2 separate regions of the Homo sapiens genome follow, and region 1 is linked to region 2. The links are contacts of gene promoters, found by promoter capture Hi-C in blood cells and fetal thymus (Javierre and others, 2016). All regions are on one chromosome and are shown on one strand. Each heading gives the region's core, a stretch centred on a gene start or on the middle of the fragment in contact. The rest is flanking DNA. Distances are from core to core; before and after follow the strand shown.

What was found. Contacts are between HindIII fragments. The CHiCAGO score rates a contact against its expected background, and 5 or more counts as called.
Region 1: a contact is called between a fragment that was not itself captured here and the fragment with the promoter of CCDC66 in region 2, in 6 of 17 cell types (total CD8 T cells, naive CD4 T cells, non-activated CD4 T cells and 3 more). The highest score is 7.1, in total CD8 T cells.

Annotation. Positions count from the first base shown.
Region 1 is chr3:56,805,911-56,809,719 of GRCh38, reverse strand. It overlaps a transcript of ARHGEF3 not described here. Among named protein-coding and RNA genes, the nearest start is that of ARHGEF3, 5.9 kb to the right of the region's middle. The HindIII fragment of the contact is 4,883 bases long and covers 1-3,809 here.
Region 2 is chr3:56,555,315-56,559,137 of GRCh38, reverse strand. CCDC66 (coiled-coil domain containing 66) reads right to left here and starts at 1,963. Exons shown (of 18, transcript NM_001141947.3): 1 at 1,885-1,963; 2 at 228-292. The coding sequence starts at 1,895. RefSeq lists enhancers at 1,548-1,707, 1,176-1,847, 1,848-2,520. The HindIII fragment of the contact is 1,896 bases long and covers 282-2,177 here.

The DNA.
Region 1 (3,809 bases), core at 148-2,647, 250 kb before region 2:
TTTTAAAAATTAAATATAACATATTTATTGAATCCTTAACCCCCAAATATGAAATACTCTCAAAGGCAGACTCTCCAGAAAATTCAAAGACACTCTAGTAGTACACAGAAAATGTTTTATTACTTCTGTGGGCAGAACAAGCCTGCTGATAGTTATAAGTTCAAATTGGAGAAGGTCAGGTTTCTTACTGCAAAATCTTCAGTGAGACAGGTTTTTGTTTATACAAACTGTGCATCCAGAAACACCATATATCAAGAAAATAGTAAATTAAACCCCTTAGGGTTTTCATTTAATCACTGAGTTTGCATTTCTGCCCCCCAAAACAAATATAGTGGCAAAGGTTGTCCTGGGGAAGAATAAGACTTGAAAAAAATTCCCTCTTCCCTGGTTTCTTCTTTATTATATTTCATTGAAATTTTAATTTTCACTGGTGTTTTAAAGTATATTTGTGTACCTGAAGCAGTTTAAGACAGTTTTCTGTCCCCTCACTCCCTTACTCCTATATTCCTCTTTATTCTTTTGTCTGTCTTGTGTTTTATGGAATTTGTTATTCAGCCAACGGTCAGGTTTGGGCATCAGGGAAGACTTGATTCATTGCCCTGTTCTGGGGTTTCTTGGCACTCAAGCATTTCTTCTTTGCCCCACCAAGCCTAAGCTGATATTTGATACTAATCAATGATCAAAGTCTGAAGTGAAAATACCTTGAGGTCAATACCCACAGATTCCCTTGGCTCCAATACCATATTTCAGGACCACTCTCTCTTTACCACAGCGTTTCTCAATAGTGGCACTATTGGCATTTTGGACCTGCTAATTCTTTGTTATGGGAAGCTGTTCTGTGTATCATAAGTGTTAACAGCATCCCTGGCCTTTACCTATTAGATGCCAATGGCACCCTGGCCTTGTCCACTGACAATCAATCAAAAATACATCCAGACAGTGCCAAATATCTGCTGGGAGGTAAAATCACCATTGGTTGAGAAGTATTGCTCTTATGAACCAGAGGCTAGCAAATGTTTATGATGTTTCAGGGCAAAACACTTCAATATTATTATTTTTTTGAAAAAACAAAAAAATTTGCTAATTTCATAGCTAATTTTTTATTTTTATTTTAATTAATTAATTATTTTGAGACAGGTTCTCACTCTGTTGCCTAGGCTGGAGTGCACTGGCATGATTATGGCTCACTGCAACCTCGACCTCCTGAGCTCAAGGGATCCTCCCACCTCAGCCTCCTAAGTAGCTGGGACCATAGGCACATGCTACTACGCCCAGCTACTTTTCGGATATTTCTTTTTTTGTAGAGATGGGGATCTCATTATGTTGTTCAGGCTGGTCTCGAACGCCTGCGCTCAAGCAATCCTCCTGCTTCGTCATCCCAAAGTGCTGGGATTACAGGCGTGAGCCACTGTGACTGGCTAATTTATTATTACTATTTTTTTTGCTTTATAGCTGATAATCCACAGGATTAGCTCAGCTGGGAGAGAGAGATACTCTCCTTTAACCAGTTTTTCAGAAAATGAGACCTTAAAGAAAATGCAAGAATTAAGCCTTCCAGCTTTAGACTATCCGGGGATACTTTTTTTTTTTTTTTTTGAGACAGAGTCTAACTTTGTCACCCAGGCTAGAGTGCAGTGGCACGATCTCGGCTCACTGCAACCTCTGCCTCCCAGGTTCAAGTGATTCTCCTGCCTCAGCCTCCCGAGTATCTAGGACTACAGGCACCCGCCACCATGCCTGGCTAATTTTCGTATTTTTAGTAGAGACGGGGTTTCACCATGTTGGTCAGGCTGGTCTTGAACTCCTGACCTCAGGCGATCCACCCGCCTTGGCCTCCCAAAGTGCTGGGATTACAGGCATGAGCCACTGCACCCAGCCCAGAGATACATTTTTGTAAATCTAGACTGGAGTCAGTGGACAGCTCCTCAGGCAAAGGGAGAATAGTAATACTGGTATGAGTTTAGAGATGATGGTTGCTTCATTTGTGCCATTTTTACCTATCTAGCAGTAAATCACAGTCCTGATCTGCCAGAATTCACTGCCAGAACTTCTTTAGGTTCCCTCCCCATCAAAACTGAAATTAGAGAGAGGAGAGGGGGGCTTGGTCATTAACTGGAAATGTCACCCAAATGGAAGGGGAGGGGAAAGGTGTTGCAACACTCATGTGCCCACCATATACCTACACATCCATGCCACTTTAGCAGGTAGAAGAGATGACTTCAGATACCAGGGAAAGCAAACAGAGGTACACATATTGGAGGCCCAGGCTTTCGGGGATCAGCTACTGTTCCTTGAGCTCCTTATTCAAATGTAAACACATAGGTTACAATTGAAAGGCCACATTTTAAAATTGGCCTTATTCTTTGAGCAAGTATGTATTAAACATCTGCCTGGCATAGAAGTTCAGGAATGGGTGGAGAAGAGGAGGGGAGAAATGTATCTAATTGAACACCTGACTGTAATAAGCATTCATTAATTATTTGATAAATGAATGAACGGATGGATGAACAAGCCTTTAAAGAAAAAGGAACTCAGGCCTGGCGCGGTGGCTCCCACCTGTAATCCCAGCACTTTGGGAGGCCAAGGCGGGGCAGATCACTTGAGGTCAGGAGTTCGAGACCAGCCTGGCCAACATGGTGAAACCCCGTCTCTACTAAAAACACAAAAAATTAGCCGGGCGTGGTGGTGTGTACCTGTAATCCCAGCTACTCAGGAGGCTGAGGCGGGAAAATTGCTTGAGGCCGGGAGGTGGAGGTTGCAGTGAGCAAGATCACACCACTGTACTCCATCCTAGGCAACAGAGCAAGACTGTGTCTCAAAAAAAAAAAAGGAACTCGCTATTCCTTATGTTAAAATATAACGCTAATAGGACAAAGCATTGTCCTGTTGGCTGAGAAGGCTGTCACAGCCATGTTAGCTTCTGGTTTTATCCTCAGGCTAGGCCTGCTCTGCTCCCAGTCATGGGACTGGGATTTAAGGAGTTGACAGATGGTCTCCAAGCCATGCCTGGTTGTCTGCAAGTCTAAAAGGAGCTAATAACCAGTGGTGGGCTTCTGTATTCAGGCCTACCATTCCACCAGCAGCCCAAATGACCCCCGCTCAACACAGGCAAGACCACAGGCCCTGTGCTTGGCACAGTTCCTGCAAATGCAGAACAGCCCTCTTTATTTCAGTCTCCAGGCTTCTGGCTGGCAAGGAACACTGCCCGGCTGTGAAGCATTTTATAGGATTATAACGGGCTATGCCGAAGGCAAGTTCTGAAAGACACTTTGTGCCGTTTCTTTGAGTGAAGCTGCCTGTTAGAGCAGTGTTGTTCCTAAGCCCGTAAACACACACACAGGCAGAATGGGGAGCTCTGGGCTCCTGGGGCCACTTAGCTTGGCGGCATTGCAGGACTGGACCAGCTTCCCTCAACTGTGACACTAACCTTAGGGATATGCTTGGAGGCCCTCCTGCAGGGGTGCCTGTTTTCTGACAGTCTTTGTTCACGGACACCCCCAGATAGTGTCTCAGGCAGATTGCCTAAAACCCCAATCTGTCAATGGTGGAGCAGTGCATTACATATGGGGAAGGTGCTGAAGTCAGGGACCAAGGTGGAAATTGCATGAGGTCAGAAATACTCCTGAAATAGCTAATCCTGACCTTAACCTATATACTGATGGAAGTTAAAAAAAAATACTCCTGAAAAATTTGTTAAATGCCTCAAGGACCATATACATGGCTTGTATGCACCCCAAATTGCTGGCTTGAGTTTATAGGCTTTGTTGTACCAAAAATATCTGTATTTAAACACCAGAATCCTATTCTGG
Region 2 (3,823 bases), core at 714-3,213:
TATACTGGAACATTAAATGTTATGAGTCTGAATACTGACAGTAGTAAGCAGTGTTGTAATCTGATTTTATTTGGCTAGAAGGAAATCTGCAGAAGTTTGAGGAAACAGCTTTTTCTAAAATATCATTTAAATATCACTCTATTACAAGCAAAAAGTCTGTTGAACTAATATAAATTTTATGTATGAATTTAAAAGTTAACATTTCAGATTTCTGTAACACAACATACCATATGGAGACAATATTAGCTTGGTTTTTCCATCCAGTAATTCAGTTTCAAGCTTTAAACCATCTCTGTAATAAAAAAAGAAAGTTGTCTCTCATTTTTAACAAACCGCAACATTTTAAATAACCAGAAATGTTCATTTGAACCTGACAATAAATCCATTATTTTGAATTTATGCAGGAATCTTGTACACATCGAACCAGTGTTTTAATTAAAAACGTTTGCAATCCAAGATAAAACCCACAACTACAGGGGGAAAATTCTTGAAACTCTTCAATACTACAAGCATTGTTATCATTAACCTGAAATCTCATTTTGTTATTGGTAAACTATAAATTAAGTTATCATACCACCATTTTTTAATAATGCTGTTACCAAAACTCCTCACATAAGTTAAAGGAACAAGATATATTTAACCGCCATTCATTAGTTTCATAATGAACTCATGACTAAAACATTCTATGGAGTGCTGGAGCATCGATATGACTACTAACAATGCCATCAAGGTTAGTAACTGCTTGAGCAAAGAGTACCACTTTCAATATTTCAAATAATACATAGTGATATTTAGTATGGTGCTTTATACGTGCATATCAGAAGCAAAGGCATAAAGTAACAGTAGCCACTGCCAACAAAACTTGAACGTCTGTTAAGGTCCTAAAACTCCACTGAGAACAAAAATGGCAGCCCATACATACAGTCCATAATTCAGAGAGAGAAAATTAAATCCAGCAAGCCAGTCAAGGGAGAGAGAGGCTGGGAAAGGTCTGATTAGGAATGCGAAATTTGCGGTGTTGCTCAGGTAGGGGAAATCAAATTACCTCACCTTAACTATTAAAGGTAAAACACTGGAAAGAATAGGTTTTACGGCTTTCCTTATTGTAGGGTTATGAACAGTTCGTGTTTATGTTGGTGAAACGTCACCAAGAAAGAAAAGAGCTTCAATGGTAAAGTACCTTCAATGACGCACTGCACTGTAATCTCCTTAAGGGACACACTATCTTATTTATTTCCATATCCCCAGATTCTAAAACATAATAACATTTGCTGAACGATGTGTAGTTAGGTCTGAGTTTGGTGGCTTCTCATCTTCTCAAAATATCAAACTTGCGAGTGATGAAGACCATGCACCAGCCCTTTTTATTTATTCACCCCTACTTAAGGAGCGCCTACTAGGTGTTAGGCACTGGTACTACATCGATTTCTTGAGAAGCCTGGTTCCCCGCCTCGTGGGCCTAAAACGAATTTGGGCGTTTCAACATTCTGCAAGACTCCAAAAACAAGGTGGCGAAGAACCCGGGGCATGGGCCAGGAGTCCTCCCCAGGAGCCGCCACGCTTCCTCTAACTGTCTCGTCATTTCTCTCCTTTCCTCCTCACCTCTCTTCCCTCCTCATCCTGAGGTAAATAAGGGACCGAAAGGGGATCACTGGCAGTTTTAATGCTAGTCATTAAGTGAAAACGTAAGGTCTGTGGAGTCGCTAAGGGCCGACCCATCTGCCTCGATCTTCTACCCGAGAACTGGGCTCTGCCCCTCTCGGCGGCGCAGGTTGGGAACGTTCTCCAGTAAAGACTCCAAGGGACAACCCAGACACACATGCCTCCCTCTCCGCTGACGACCACCTTGCTTACCCCAGCTTACCCCAGCTTACCCCTGCTTACCCCAAGTTCATGGCCTGACCTCGCACTCTCTCCACAGAACGCTCAAGCCCCTTGTGTACGTCGGTTGCCGCCGCCGCTCAGCAAGCGCTACGCCAATTGGATATAGGGGTGCCGGCGAGCTGAGCAAGTGGACCAATCAGGGTGGGGCATGCTGGCGGGTGCGCTGAGCTGGGCCGGGGCTCCCGCGGGGACGGTTGCGTATGCCGTTTGTTCCCCTTTTGTGCCCCGTTTGTGCCGTTTGTTCCCCTACGCACAGCGGAATTTGGCCTGACCCGGCTTATGAGTCTAAAGCTTCGGTGGCGGAGACCTGCGCTTCTCGCAATTGTAGCCTTCCAAAGCGCGTACACAGACACACACACACACACACACACACACACACACACACACACACACACACACACACACACACACCTTTTTGGGGTCACCATTTGCAAGTAAGTTACAGACATTGTAACACTTAACCCTTTAACATTGCAGACATTGTAACACTTAACCCTTTAACATTGCAGCATGTATCTCCTAAGAATAGATGTTCTGCTACATAACCGCAGTACAATTATTATACCTAAGATCATTAATTTCATAATAATTCTCTTCCCGATTTAATTTCCCCCACTTGTCCTAAGAATATCTTATAGGCATTTTATTTAGAAAGCAAGAGCCAATCGCGCCACTGCATTCCAGCAGCTTGGGCGACAGAGTGAGACTCCGTCTCAAAAAAAAAAAAAAAAAATGCAAGAGCCGATCAAGGATCACACATTACATTTGGTTGTTAAGTATCTTTGCACACACTCTTTCCAGACAAAAACAATGAAAGGTATTAATTATTAAATGCCTGACAAACCTTTACTTTTTTATTTTTTATTGTTGTAATATGTGTGTTAAAATTTGCTATTTTTAGCCATTTTCAAGTGACAATTCCATGATACAATGTTGTGGAATACGCCAGTATATTTTTCCAAAAGCTTTTTAGTACCCCCAAATAAAAATTCTGTACCCATTAAGCAACAACTTCCCATTTTCCTCTCCCCTCAATCCTAAGAAACCTCTAATCTTATTTCTGTCTCTAGGAATTTGCCTATTATAGATACTTCATGTCATAAAAGTGGAATCATACAATATTTGTCCTTTTGTGTCTTCTCTCAAGTAACATAATGTATTCAAGGTGCATCCATGTTGTAGGATGTATCAGAGCTTCATATCTGTTTATGATTGAATAGTATTCCATTCTATGTATATATATACCACAATTCGTTTACTCATTCATCCATTAATAGACATTTGGGTTGTTTCCATCTTTTAGTTATTGTGAATAATGCTGTAGTGAACACTGATGTACAAGTATCTGTTTGAATCCCTATTTTCAATTTTCTTGGTATACACCTAAGAGTGGAATTACTGGGTCACATGGTAATTCTATGGTTAACTTTTCGAGAAACTGCCAAACTGTTTTCATAACAGTTGCAGCATCTTACATTTCTGCCAGCAATGTATATGAGGTTCTAATTTCTTCACCCCAACACTTGCTTTTTCTTTTTCTTTTCTTTCTTTTTTTTTTTTTTTTAGAGACAGGGTTTTGCTCTGTCACCCAGGCCGCCTACATTGGTACGAACATAACACTGTAACCTCGAACTCCTGGTCTTAAATGATCCTCCTGTCTCAGCCTCCCAAGTAGCTAGGGCTACAGGCATGCACCACTACGCCTGGTTAATTTTTAAAAAAATTTTTGTAGAGACAGAGTCTGTTTACGTTGCCCAGGCTGGTCTCAAACTCCTGGCCTCAAGTAGTCCTCCCACCTCAGACTCCCAAAGTGCTGGGATTATAGGCGTGAGCCTGTAGCCAGAATGATTTCTAAAATGTGAATCTGCTTAATTCACTCTGCTTCTTAAAATCTCTCAATATAGGAGAACGTCCTTAACTTGATAAGCAATATCTACAA